4 separate regions of the Homo sapiens genome follow, and all the other regions are linked to region 1. The links are contacts of gene promoters, found by promoter capture Hi-C in blood cells and fetal thymus (Javierre and others, 2016). All regions are on one chromosome and are shown on one strand. Each heading gives the region's core, a stretch centred on a gene start or on the middle of the fragment in contact. The rest is flanking DNA. Distances are from core to core; before and after follow the strand shown.

Evidence for each region. Contacts are between HindIII fragments. The CHiCAGO score rates a contact against its expected background, and 5 or more counts as called.
Region 2: a contact is called between a fragment that was not itself captured here and the fragment with the promoter of ST6GAL1 in region 1, in 8 of 17 cell types (non-activated CD4 T cells, total CD4 T cells, naive CD4 T cells and 5 more). The highest score is 7.7, in non-activated CD4 T cells.
Region 3: a contact is called between a fragment that was not itself captured here and the fragment with the promoter of ST6GAL1 in region 1, in 1 of 17 cell types (non-activated CD4 T cells). The highest score is 5.3, in non-activated CD4 T cells.
Region 4: a contact is called between a fragment that was not itself captured here and the fragment with the promoter of ST6GAL1 in region 1, in 1 of 17 cell types (non-activated CD4 T cells). The highest score is 6.1, in non-activated CD4 T cells.

The regions. Positions count from the first base shown.
Region 1 is chr3:186,928,509-186,932,119 of GRCh38, reverse strand. ST6GAL1 (ST6 beta-galactoside alpha-2,6-sialyltransferase 1) reads right to left here and starts at 1,594. Exons shown (of 8, transcript NM_173216.2): 1 at 1,286-1,594. RefSeq lists silencers at 1,174-1,363, 1,604-1,683 and an enhancer at 1,371-1,979. The HindIII fragment of the contact is 4,226 bases long and covers 1-3,611 here.
Region 2 is chr3:187,169,021-187,172,631 of GRCh38, reverse strand. No RefSeq gene overlaps it. Among named protein-coding and RNA genes, the nearest start is that of RTP1, 27 kb to the left of the region's middle. RefSeq lists an enhancer at 1,288-1,789. The HindIII fragment of the contact is 1,735 bases long and covers 1,142-2,876 here.
Region 3 is chr3:187,141,465-187,145,075 of GRCh38, reverse strand. No RefSeq gene overlaps it. Among named protein-coding and RNA genes, the nearest start is that of RPL39L, 3.8 kb to the right of the region's middle. The HindIII fragment of the contact is 3,288 bases long and covers 53-3,340 here.
Region 4 is chr3:187,084,894-187,088,504 of GRCh38, reverse strand. No RefSeq gene overlaps it. Among named protein-coding and RNA genes, the nearest start is that of RPL39L, 53 kb to the left of the region's middle. The HindIII fragment of the contact is 5,150 bases long and covers 1-3,611 here.

The DNA.
Region 1 (3,611 bases), core at 345-2,844:
CACTAGCCAAGGTGAGGCAGCAGCCCGCCCGCTCAGCAGGCACACACTGGGGCGGCGGCGCCTCCATTCCTGCTCACACTGCACGCCCACAACCTGCACCAACACCATCGCCTCAGAGACCAATTCACCGCGAAACCATCTCCCCGCTGCAGATCGTGTCCGATTAACATCTGCAAAGCTGAGCTGAGCATATGTAAGCAAAGAAAAAGCAAAACAAACAAGAGTTCTCTTTTTCCGGACCTCGGAATTTCTTTCAAATAAACTCAGAACTGAAAATTGTACGTCCCCAGCTAGAATACGAGGTCTCGGCTGGCCTTGCTTGCGAAAATGCATTAACAAGCCAAAAGGGGCTAGTGACATCTGGGGTGTCTGGGCACACGGACACGGGCCTCAGAGGCAAAGAGCAAGACCGCACTGGGCGACTCGTACATTCTTCCCGCAGGCTGAGGAGGCGACCAAAATATCCCCACAGAGGCAATCGCCGGAGTGCGGGGACAATAGTGCACCCAGCACTCTCTTTTTTTGAGGGGCACCCTTAGACCCTTAACCCAACCCACATCTCTAAGAGACCTCCAGGAGGTGAAGGTGAGGGGTGGTCCACTTCACCCAAAAGAATGCGCCACGGCCGGGGACCGACTCAGCCTGGAGTAACCTTTTTGTAGCTGCTTTCTTGTTTTGGTTTCCCTTTTTAAGTCTGGCAGTTTAGTCTGATGCCCAAGCGGTACCTTTTAAATGTCTCTCTCGCCCTCTTCCAGCAAGTGGCGCCTCTAGAGCCACTCCCTCCCCCGAGGCTGAGACAATGGCCCGGCACCGCAGGGCGGCCCCTAAGGGTATGCAGTGCGTCCAGCTCTCCGGGCAGGGCGCACGTGCGTTTGTTATGGTGCCTGTGCCCCCTCCGCTGCCGCGGGCCTCAATTTGTCGATCCGTAAACCCAGACTCTGCAAGGCGCAATGCCCCCACGCCACCCCACCCCATACTGACGGTGCCGTGGAGAAATCCGTGTTCCCCGGGGCTGTGCGCACGTGGGTTTGTTGTGGATCCGCAGGCTCGCGGAGCCAGAGAGAAGCCAGGGTGGCCCTTTGGCCCTGACAAAAATGCACACACCCCCAACCAAAAGGCGGCCAGCCCCGGAGCCAAGGCAGCTGAGGCGGAGCTGGAGAGAGATTCCCTGCGCCCTACGCGCGCCGCGGGCCCCGCGCCTCCGCTATCCTCCCGCGCCCCTTTGCATCACACTCCTCCCGGGATAGCCCGGGCCGCGCCGCCGCCCACCGCACCCCCTACTCACTCGCTGCACTCTCGGCCGCGGAGGCTGCGGTTGCTCAGCACGCTCGGTGGCGGCCGCCCGCTCCGCGCCCACGCCGGTCGGTATCGGCTCCCTTTGTTAACGCCGGGCAGTGCCCCAGGCGTCTTCCCCAGCCCGGCCCTGCCCAGGACTCCCCTCCCCCAGGTGACTCCAGAAAACGCGCTCGGCAAGGGCAGGATCGCCCGGGAGCTGGGGACCCCACTAGGGAGTCTCGAAAGAGGGGTCCGCTGGGGAAGAACGGGGGACAGAAGACGCACAGTGGAAGGGACTGGAGAAGGAAGGAAGAAGAGCGCGGCGGAGGGGCGGGAAGGAAGCGAGTCGCCTCCGTATGCAAATAGAGTTGCGAAGACTGGGTCGGTCTCCGCCCCCACTCCACCTCTCGCCACCGGCCACACCGCGCCCCAAACCGGCCTGGAGGTCGCTAGCGAGCGGGCTTGGGGTTAAAGACTCTTGATGAAGGCACTGGGTGATGCTAGAATCCTGCCTGCTCTCAAGGAGGGTGGATCGAGGGCCGAGTGGGAGGGGCCACGCGGCTGCGCAAGGACCCCTAAATGCCTCTTCCCCGCTTGGCCGCGAGGGGTCAATCCAGCAGTGTCCGGCTTTTGGTCCTAACATGCGGGTGCTGTACACCCGGTCTCTGCTACCGGCTGACTGCGAGACCCTGAGGAAGTCGCTTAACCTCTCCGAAGACTCGTGTTGCTCTTATCTAGAATAGGAAAGAACAAAATCTTTCACTGCGTTTGGCATTAACCTCCTAACATTGAGGCATGACTCCTACTGGGCGCTCTCAAATGGCAAATACAGAAGGAGAGGAGCGTCCTCGAACCCCTGCACCCAGAGGCTTCCACCCCAAGCTGCAGGCTGAAAGACTGAAGCCTCAGCCTGGATGGTGAAGGGAGCGAGGTTCTTTCTTTTCACCCGGACGACGGTGGGGCTGCTGGGGAAGGAAAGAGGATTAACCAAGCTGCGTACTGACCATCCCCGATAGCCCCAAGGCGATTTCCCTAAGAAAGAAAAACTGCCCAACAGGAGGGCGGAAGGGGCCTTTAAGGCCTCCAGTCCAGCCTCCCATAGCCCAAAGAGAGGATGTGACTACCAGAGGCAATAGTCATATCCCAGTTGTCTACTGAGTGCACACTAGGCACCAGGCTGTGTGCTGGGTGGGAAAGGGGAAAGGAAGGAGATACTGGAAGGTTTGGGGGTCCTCTGGGAACACAAAGTCCAGTGCACACTTAAAGTGCCTGAAGCCCAGGCCCAGAGTTCTGTCTCCAAATGAGGTGCCTACCCCACATCACCAACCTTGGAAAGGGAAGTTACATCCGCACCCTGTCCCCAGCACCCTTCTTCCAAACACTGCTTCCTCCCTGTCCTGATCCTGGCTCCCTTCTGCTGATACTGTCATTCCCTTCCCTGCTGCCCCTGAGGCATTTTTGCTCAGTACAAAGAGCTCCAATTGAAGGGAGTGCCAGCCAGAGTGAATTCAAATCTTTATGACCAACTCGCTGTGCCTTCTTGGGTGAGTTCCACATCCTGTGAGCCTCCCTTTCCTCTTCTGCAAAATGGAGATATTAAGGAAAGCGTTGTTTTCAGGATCCTGTGAAATGACCTACGTGAAACACGTAGCTTAGTGTTTGGCATATAGAAGGTGCTCCTGACAGTAAAATGTATGTATGCGTGAATGAATAGAAGCAGCCAAGTTCAGAAGACTATTTCTGGAAGGATGCTACATTGAAGATTTTAGGCCCTATTCGAAAAAGGGAAAAAAAAAAAGGAGGCTATTAAAAGATTCTGTGCAGTAGCATGACATGCATCTTTGTATTTTACAAGGATTCCTCTGGCACCACACTGGAAAATAGATGGCAGAAGCAGAGAATGCAAGAGACTAGATTGGAAGCTGACATCAATGGAGATATAATAAGAGCCTGAACTGTGTCAGTGACTGTAACAAGACAGAAGAAAAGGACATCTAAATAATAGCTACCATTTGGAGATCTGACATGGTTTGGCTCTGTGTCCCCACCCAAAAATCTCATCTTGAATTGTAATCCACATGTGTCAGGGGAGGGACCTCCTGGGAGGTGATTGGATCGTGGGGGGCGGTTTCCCCCATGATGTTTTTGTGATAGGGAGCTCTCACGGGATCTGGTTGTTTGATAAGTGTCTGGCATTTCCCCTGCATTCTCTCTCTCACCTGCCGCCATGTAAGATGTGCCCTGCTTCCCCTTCACCTTCCACCATGATTATAAGTTTCCTGAGGCCTCCCCAGCCATATGGAACTGTGAGTCAATTAAACCTCTTTTGTTTATAA
Region 2 (3,611 bases), core at 760-3,259, 240 kb before region 1:
GTCTAGAAATTTATGCCTAACATATGTTGACAAAAACAGAAAATGATATACACAAATCGCTATTCAGTACTATGTTGTTTGTAGCAGTCGGAATTGGAAACAACCTAAACTGTACGGCATACCTTACCTATGGTAAGATACAAGAGGAATAAAATATGAAACACCACCCAGTAAAGAACTATGGAGCTAAACAAAAGAATGAGGATAATCTCTATAAACCATTATGGAGTGATATCCAGGATAGCCTCTCAACTAAAAAACAAAAAAAGGAAAAGAAAAAACCAAGGGGCAGAACTGTATATAAAGATTGCTACCTTTCCTCGAAGGATGAAAGATACATATTTGACTATATTAAAAATAAATGGAAAGATAAGTTAAAAACTAAGGAATATTATTGTTCACTGGGGAGGAGGGAACAGGGTAGAGGAGACACAGGTAGAACACAGATATTTCTAAATGTGCTTTGTTGTGTTGTGTTGTTTTGGGTCCATGTTATTTTTTACATAATTATAAAACAAAAAAATTGAATTTTTAAAAATTCTGAAAACTTGGGGAAAAAATTAACCTAACATTATGAAATCTGTGGCTTACTCAATGGTGAATTATTTCAAATGACTTTAAAACATAATAATTTGACTGTTTCCATATATCTCATGGAGGCTGAAGTGTGGGGATGGGGAGTAATTACAGTGTTATTATTTTTATTTTAATAGGGTAAGTAACACATTGTATTAGTGCTTCTATTAATGTTACTGGGAACCAAGATTTTTATGGTAATCAAAAAGAGATTGGAAATACATAAAATCTAAGATGGTAAATAAAAATTCCTATTATCTGAATTTGAATTGGAAATATAAGTATTATATCATAATGAAATTGTATTGCCCATAAAAATTATGAACTTCCTAACTTTGTCTATTACACAGACCTGAAAGAAATAAATCATCAATCCATTAGCAACAAGTACCTCTCAGCACCTGGATCACCAAAAGTGATCAGAACTTTCTGGAAAAATAATTCCTTCAGATATAAGTCAATAAATGTATAAAATGAGCCTGGAATATTTTCTTGTACCAGATTTCAAAAATTCCTATTGTCATGTCAAAAGACAAAAGGCAAATGAAACTAACCTGAAGAAGCTTTCACTGGCCAAAAACAAAATAATTGGATCATCAAAAAGAATAATGGCCACAATTCATTGAAGTACATCAAATATGCTAAAAATCCATAAATTAATAATGATATTTTAAATAAAAAAAACCAACTATTTATTTCAAAAATAGGCAAGGGAAAAATATTACATATTTATCTTGGCTTCCTTATGTAATCTGCATTTTGTGATAACCAAATAATAGTTGAGGGGAAGCTATTCTTTAGAGAAGAATTACAATTAATAAAAGAAAAGGGGCCGAGGCGCAGTGGTTCACACCTGTAATCTCAGCACTTTGGGAGGCCAAGTAGGGAGATCACTTGAGGTCAGGAGTTTGAGACCAGCCTGTCCAATGTGGTGAAACCCCATCTCTACTAAAAATACAAAAAAATCAGCTGGGCCTGGTGGAGCACACTGGTAATCCCAGCTACTCGCGAAGCTGAGGCATGAGAATTACTTGAACCCAGGTGGTGGGGGTTGCAGTGAGCTGAGATTGCGCCACTGAACTCCAGCCTGGGTGACAGAGCAAGACTCTATCTCAAAAAGTAAATAAATAAAAAATAAAAGGGAACAATAGGATCAGAATATCACTATTTTGCAGTCCTAATGAAATAATGATAAAGAAAAAAATCTAAATCTGCTAAACTCATTAATTAAGATGTTGTGGGGAACTTTATAGTGGATGGGTCAGGCTGACACCATCTGATCTTACTGATCAATTAAGAAAAGAAAGGCAATCAGACATCACGTGTCTCCTAATATAACGCTGCAGGAACAGTCCAACACTAGCACTGAAATAGTCACATTAAAAAATCCAAATCTGGCTGGGTGCGGTGGCTCACGCCTATAATCCCAGCACTTTGAGAAGCCAAAGTGGGTGTATCACGAGGTCAGAAGTTCGAGAACAGCCTGACCAACATGATGAAACCCTGTCTCTACTAAAAATACAAAATTTAGCTGGGCATGGTGGCGCGTGCCTGTAATCCCAGCTACTCAGGAGCCTGAGGCAGGAGAATCGCTTGAACCCGGGAGGCAGAGGTTGCAGTGAGCCTAGATCGTGCCACTGCACTCCAGCCTGGGTGACAGAGTGAGACTTCCAAAAAAAAAAAAAAAAAAAACATACCTGATCAGGCCTGTAGATAGTCTAGAGGAAATACGAAGTATGAGGAAACGTCTCAGACAAAAACCACAAGAATGTATCACCAAAGTCCAAAATGTGAGCAATTCTACAAGATACATGATTTTTTTTCCAAATAAATAAATGGTAAAGAAGAAGAGGGGGAAGGAGGACTGCTATAAAGTTAAAAAGAATTGAGACGCACAACCCGATGTGATATGTGAACTTTCTGACTGAATCAAATCAACTATAAAAAGGCATGTTTGAGATAACACAGACAACTTAATTATGTACTAAATTAGATGATTTTAAGGAATTCTTTTTGAAGAATTATGAGGAATTATGAAGAATGATTATGAAGAATTTCAAGGAGTTGCATTTGGAAATTTGAAATTTAAAAAAAATTTTAATAGTAAAAACAAAAGCAGAAGGTAAAAGGGAATAAAACTGTAAATAAGATGGATCCAGGACTGGATTTGGGGCATAGATGTATACATGTGTTATAGGAGTACCACAAAACAAGCTCTATGTTTGCAGCTACCAATGTGAGAAGGGAGAGAAAAATAGTGAGAAAGTGCTCAGTACCTACTCAGCAAAAACAAACAAGCTTTTCAGGTAGAGCATCATTCTACTGCTAAGTCCTGAGCAAATCCTCTGCCCTGGATCATCACTTAAAACAAATCCAGGACAGCTTCCCTTTTTAATTTGATTGGCCAAATATTTAAATCCTTTACTCCATACCCCAACCACCTGAACTATATAAGACCAAAAGACCCCTCATCATTTAAGAAACATTTGTTGAACTCTACTATATTTCAGTATGTGTGGTAAGAGTAAAGTATTTATTTACAAAGAAGGCAGACTCTGCTGTCAGTGAACTTAGAGTCTATAGTGATTTGCTGGCATTCATACAACCATCACATCATGCCAAGATAGATAGGTCATGAGAGCGAATAACAAAGATCTCTGGAAGCGGAAGGATTCCTCTTCAAATTCTCAGGACAAGTTAAGGTTTCTTACAGAAACACCATAACTGTGTGTTGTTAGCACAAGATGGGTTTTGCTGGGGGTGACATTCCACATAAACCAAAGGCAGAGGTGGTCTGCACATCCTTCTGGGGTGCTTAGTACATGAGCTCCCCCCTTATCCAAGGTTTTGCTATCCATGGTTTCAGTTACTCATGGTCAACCATGGTTTGAAAATAGGTGAACACAGAGCAATAAGATATTTTGAGAAAGAGAGACCACATTTACATAATTTTTATTACAGTATATCTAATCATTGTTCTATTTTATTATTGTTAATTTCTTACTGTGTGTAAGTTTTGTTTGTTTGTTTGTTTG
Region 3 (3,611 bases), core at 447-2,946, 210 kb before region 1:
TCAGCATGACCTGGATGGGAAATATGGAGTTAAAGGAGATCATCATGAAGCTTTAAGATTTAATGACTGCCCTGTTTGGATTTTGGACTTGCATGGGGCCTGTAGCCCCTTTGTTTTGGACGATTTCTCCCATTTGGAATGGGAACATTTATCAAATACCTGTACCCCCATGTACCTTGGAAGTACTAACTTGCTTTTGATTTTACAGGCTTATTGGTGGAAGGGAGTTGCCTTGTCTCAGATGAGAGTTTGGACTTGGACTTTTGAGTTAATGATTGAATGAGTTAAGAATTTGGGGAACTGTTGGGAAGGCATGACTGGTTTTGAAATATGAAAAGAACATGAAATTTGGGAGGGGCCAGGGTGGAATGATATGGTCTGGGTCTGTGTCCCCACCCAAATCTCATCTTGAATTGTAATCCCCACACGTTGAGGGAGGGACCTGGTGGGAGGTGATTGGATCATGGGGGCAGTTTCCTCTACGCTGTTCTCATGATAGTGAGTGATTTCTCATGGGGGTGGTTTCTCCAATGCTGTTCTCATGATAGTAAGTGTTTTTACCTGAGATCTGGTTGTTTGATAAGTCTGGCAATTTCCCTGAGCTCTCTCTCTCTTGCCTGTCTTCACCTTGTGAAGAAGGTACTTGCTTTCCCTTTGCCCTCTGCTATGATTGTAAGTTTCCTGAGGCCTCCTCAGCCATGTGGAACTGTGAGTCAGTTAAACCTCCTTTCTTTATAAATTACCCAGTCTCAGGTAGTATCTTTATAGCAGTGTGAGAATAGACTAATAAAGCAGGCAAAAAAGTACTCATACCTTATATAACAATTAACTAAAAATGGATCACAGACTTAAATGTAAAATATCAAACTATAATACTTTTAGGAAAAAAAGAGAAAATCTTTAAGAGCTAGAGCTAGACAAAGAGTCTTAACACTAAAAACATCACTCGTAAGAGAAAAGTTGATAAATGTAACTTCACCCGTTAAAAACTTTTGCTCTGTGACAGACCCTGTTAAGAGAATGAAAAGACAAGCTACAGAATGGGAGAAAATATCTGTAAAACACATATCTGACAAAGGCCTAGCATTTTGAATATATAAAGAGCTCTCAAAATTCAATAGTAAAAGGAAACAAACATGGTAATGAAAAGAGATTTTACTGAAGAGGATACACAAGATTGCAAATTGGCAAATGAAAAAAGATGTTCTATATCATTAGCCATTAGGGAAATGCAAATTAAAACTACAATGATATATTGATATATACCTAGCAAGATTACTAAAACAAAGAAGTGACAACATCAAATTCTGGTGAGGATGCAAAGAATCACTCATAGTTTACTAGTGGGAAAAAAATGATATGGCCATTCTGGAAATCAGTTTGTCAGATTCTGAAAAATTAAGCATGCAACTACCATATGGCTTAGGAATTACACTTCTGGGCATTTGTCTCAAAGAAATAAAGACTCATGTTCACACAAAAACCTAGACACAAATTTTATAGCAACTTTATTCATAATTAGCCCAGATGTTCTTCAACTGATAATGGTTAAATACACTGTGGATATTATGGAATATTATTCAGCAATAAAAAGACACAAACTACTGATACAGGCAATAAACTGGATGAATCTCCAGAGAATTATGCTGAGCAAAAAAAAATGCCAATCCCAAAAGGTTACATGCTATAGTTCTCCTTTATATTGCGATCTTGAAAGGACAAGTTTATAAAAATGGAGAACTAATGGCATATGGGAGGAGTGGAAGCAGGTGGAAAGTTGCTGTGCCTATTAAAGAGCACCATGAGGGATTCTTATGGTGATGGAAGAGTTCTGTATCTTGACTGTAACAATGCCAATATCCTGATAGTAATATTATTGTAGAGTTTTGCAAGATTTTACCTTTTGGAGAAACTGGGCAAAGGGCACAAAGAATCTCTGAACTATTTCTCTTTCTTTCTTTTTTTAGAGACAGGGTCTCACTCTGCCAACCAAGCTGGAGTGCAGTGATGTGATTGTAGCTCACTGCTGCCTCAAATTCCTGGACTCAAGCCACCCTCCCGCCTCAGCCTCCCAAGTAGCTGGATTACAGATGCACACCACCATGCCTGGTTAACTTTCAATTTTTTGTAGATCAGGGTCTTGCTGTATGACCCAGACTGTCTTAAACTCCTGGGCTCAAGAGATCCTCCCACCTTGGCCCCCCAAAGCACTGGGTTTATAAGCATAAGCCACCACACTCAGCCCCTATACTACTTCTTACAACTGCAGGTAAATCTGCAATTATCTCAAAATGAAAAGGGTAAGTTTTAAAAGGCTGATTGCTATACTTTGGACGTTCGTCCCCCAAACTGCATATTGAAATTTGATCCCTAATGTTAGAGGTGGGGCCTGATGGGAAATATTTGGGTCCTGAGGTTTAAGGTGGATCCCTCGTGAATATATTAATGCCCTCTCTGGGGGATGGTGACTTCGCACTCTTAGTGCTTTCGTGATATGGTTTGGCTGTGCCCAACTCAAATCTCATCGTGAATTGTAGTTCCCATAATCCCCATGTTGTGGGAGGGACCCAGTGGGAGATAATTTAATCATGGGGCAGTTAACCCTCATGCTGTTCTTGTTATAGCGATTGAGTTCTCATGAGGTCTGATAGTTTTATATGGGGTTTTTCCCCCTTTTGCTCAGCACTTCTCCTTGCTGCTGCCATGTGAAGAAGAACATGTTTGCTCCCTCTTCCACCATGATTGTAAATTTTGTGTGGCCTCCCCAGCCATGGAGAACTGTGAGTCAACTAAACTGCTTTCCTTTACAAATTACCCAGTCTCCAGTATGTCTCTATTAGCAGTGTAAAAATGGACTAATACACCTTGAGAGCTGATATTTAAAAAGAGCCTCCCTCTCTACTCTCTCTTGCGTCTTTTGCCATGTGATCTCTGCACAAGTTGCTCCCCTTTCCCTTGCACCATGAGTGAAAGCAGTTTGAGGCTCTCACTAGATGTAGATGTGGGCACCATGCTTCTTATACAGCCTGTGGAACATGAGCCAGATAAATCTTTCTTCATAAATTATCCATCCTCAAGTGTTCGTTTATAGCAATGCAAATAGGCCAAAACAGTGATATAAAGATAAGGAGGTTTTTTGTTGTTGTTGTCTTCAAAGTTACTGACAAGGAATACAATGGGGTGTTAAGATTTGACACACACATTATTTCAGGAAAATAAATTTTAAAATCATATCCCAATGTCATTATTTGAGCATCAGCTGTAGTTGGGTAGTAAAGTGTAATATCAGGCTTTTGGCAACTAGTTGCATTGTTCATCAACAACATTAAGTCACCAAGCTTAAAACATCACAACAATGAATTTAATCAATGAACAATGAAATGTTATCAAGACCATTCACAAAATTAAAAGCAGGCCTGGCGTAGTGGCTCACCCCGTAATCCCAACACTTTGGGAGGCTGAGGCAGGTGGATGACCAAAGGTCAGGAGTTCGAGACGAGCCTGGCCAACATGGTGAATCCCTGTATCTACTAAAAATACAAAAATTAGCCAGGCATGTTGGCATGCACCTGTAATCCCAGCTACTTGGGAAGCTAAAGCATGAGAATTAC
Region 4 (3,611 bases), core at 679-3,178, 160 kb before region 1:
ATGGAATTTTGTCATTTGGGACAACGTGGATGCATCTAAAGAACATTATGCTAAGTGAAATAAGCCAAGCACAGAAAGATAAATACCACATGATCTCACTTATATGTGAAATCTTAAGAATGCTGAATTCACAAAAGTAGAAAATAGAAGGATGGTTACCAGATACTGGAGTCAGGGGAGTGAGAGAATGGGGAGTTACTACTGGTCAAAGGGTATGAAGTTTCAGCTAGACGGCAGGAACAAGATTTGAGATCTATTGGACACCAGGCTGGCTATATTCAATAATATGTTGTATATTTCAAAATAACTAAGAAAGTAAATTTCAAATGTATTGCCACAAAAAATGTCAAATAATTGAGGTGGTGAATATGTTAATTAGCTTGACTTAATCACTCCACATGTATGTGTATGTGTATACATCATATTGTATTCCATACATGTAATACAATTATGATTTGTCAATTAAAAATAATATAAGTAAAAGTAAATTTTTAAAAAGACACATTACGGTAGCCGCACGTGGTGGCGGGTGCCTGTGGTCCCAGCTACTCGGGAGGCTGAGGCAGGAGAATCACCTGAACCCGGGAGGCGGAGGTTGCAGTGAGGTGAGATCGTGCCACTGCACTCCAGCCTGGCGAAAGAGCGAGACTCCGTCTCAAAAAAAAAAAAAAAAAAAGACACATTACATACAGAGGAACAAAGAAAAGGATGGCAGCAGATTTTTCACCAGAAACAATGCAAGAAGAAACTGTCTTTTTTTGCAGATGAAATGACTACCTATTTAAAAAAAAAAAAGAAAAAACCAAAGAATTTACAAAAAAAGCCCCTAGAACTAAATTTAGCAAGATCACTAAACACAAAATCAAGATACAAAAGTCAACTGTATGTCTATATACTAGCTACAAACATTCAGACATTGAAATTAAAAACAAACATTTACAGCAGCATCAAAAATATGAAATACTTAGGGGGATAAATCTGACAAAAGATGTGCAAGACTCATAAACTAGAATCTACAAAGCATTTCTGAGAGAAATTAAAGAAAACCTAAATAAGTGCAGAAATATACTGCACTCACGAACTAGAAGACTTACTATTGTTAAGATGTCAATTTTTCCTGAATTGATCCATAGATTTAATGCAATCTCAGTCAAAATCTAGCAGGCTTTTTTTTGTAGATGCTGGCAAGCTATTTCTAAAACTTACGTGGAAATGTAAAAGGACCAAAGATACCCTCACCCTCCCAATTTTTGTTGTTGTTGTTGTTCTTTGATACAGGGTTTTGCTATGTTGCTCAAGATATCCTTGAACTTCCTGGGCTCAAGTGATCCTCCTGCCTCAGCCTCCCAAGTACCTGGAGCTACAGGCATGTACTACCGTGCCCGGCTATACCCCCCACCAAAAAAAATTTAAAGAAATTTAAAGCTACAATAATCATAACAGTGTGTAACTAGCATCCAGATAGGCAAATAGACCAATGGAACAGAGCAAAGTCCAGAAGTAAATCCACACATATACGGTCAATTGATTTTTTTTTTTTTTTTTTTTTTTTTTACAAAAGTGCAAAAGCTATTCAGTGGAGGCAGCATATTCTTTTCAACATGTTGTACTGGAACAATTGAATATCCATGTGCAAAAACCCCAACTTTCTTCCATACATTGCACCAATACAAAAAAAATTAGGATCATAGACCTAAATGTAACTAAAACTGTAACACTTTTAAAAGAAATCTTTATAACCTTGGGGTTAGGCCAAAACATCTTAGTTATGACACCAAAAACATGATCAATAGAAGATAAATTGGACTTCATCAAAATTTAAAATTTGTTTTTTAGAGGCATTTTTAAGAGAATGAAAAAAACAGACCACAGATTGAGAGAAAATGTTTACAAATCACAAGTCCTGATAAAAGACTTGTATCTAGAATATATAAATATAATATATAAATAATTTATATAAATTTATACATAAATATATAAATTCTTAAAAACTCAATAATATAACAATAAACAATCATTGTCCATTAAGAGATGGACAAATTATTTGAAAAGATTCTTCATCAAAGAAAATGGATAGGAAATAAGCACATGAAAAGATGATGAACATTATATGCCATTAGGGAAATGCAAATTAAAACCAAAATAAGATAACACACCGATTATGATGTCTAAAATTAAAAAGACTTAAACTAAGGTTAGCCATAATGTGGCAGAATTAAAATTTTTATGCACTGCCGGTGGAAATTTAAAATAGTACAACCACTTTAGGAAACAATATGGCAGTTTCTTTAAAAATTAACTAAATGCCTATAATATGACTCAACCATTTCACTCCTACAAGTCACCCAGCAGAAATAAAAGACTTGTATACAAATGGTCATAGCAACTTTATTTATAATATCCCCAAACTAGAAAACAATCCAAATGTTCAACAACAAAGATAACTGTTATACAAATATGGTATATCCACAAAGTGGAATACTACTCAGCAATAAGAGGAATAAGCTATTAATATACACTACAGTATGGATGAATCTCAAAACATTATGCTGAGTAAAAGAAGCTGGACAAAAAAAAAAAAAAAGAGTATGTGGGCCGGCACAATGGCTCATGCCTGAAATCCTAGCACTTTGAGAGGCCGAGGCAGGTGGATTGCTTCAGCTCAGGAGTTCAGGACCAGCCTGGGCAACATAATGAGACCCTTGTCTCTACAAAAAATACAAAAAGTATCCGGGCATAGTGGTGTGCACCTGTCATCCAGCCTGGGCAACATAATGAGACCCTTGTCTCTACAAAAAATACAAAAAGTATCCGGGCAGAGTGGTGTGCACCTGTCATCCCAGCTACTCAGGAGGCTGAGGTGGGAGGATTTCTTGAGCCCAGGAGGTGGAGGTTGCAGCGAACTGAGATTGCACCACTGCACTCCATCCTGAGCAACAGAGCCGGATCCTGTCTGAAAAAAAAAAAAAAAAAAAGTCTGTGATTTAAGTGATGGATTTGTAATGTTGTACTTGGCCAGTCTAAACTGTCCAAGAATTCTACTTCCTGTATGTTTCCTATCAGAGTTAGCAACAAGGGACTTTAGACGGTGGGAAAAAGGCAGCAGCTACTTTGAAGCAGCATCTGGGCCTACAGTTGCTCTACTACCTACCCTTGGATTCACCAGTTTTTCTGACTTTGGGACCATGTATGTGTTTAGTTCTGTGACAAAGCGCCCTGGCTTCTGCAGGATACCCTCATCACCAACATCAGAGGCAACAAGAATGGACAAGAGTTTCAGCCTGTCCTTGTGAGGCTCCAGCTCATGCTTCCCCATGCCAGCCCACTTGTGATCGTCTTGACTTTTTGCCCAGTAGACTTCCAGCTCTAGCATCAGACATGGAAACAGCCTTAAAGAGACTCCTTGACCAGCTGCCACAGTTGCATAAAGCCAATTTCCTGTAGCAGATTGATACATATATTTTACCCCCACCCTACTCTCTTTTGTTGAACCCTGACTGACATAGATACAGGGTCCATACTGTATGGTTGCATTTATATACAATTCTGAAAAATGCAAACTAATCTGTAGTGCAGAAAACAGAAAGTTCCTGGGAATAGGGAGGAGCAGG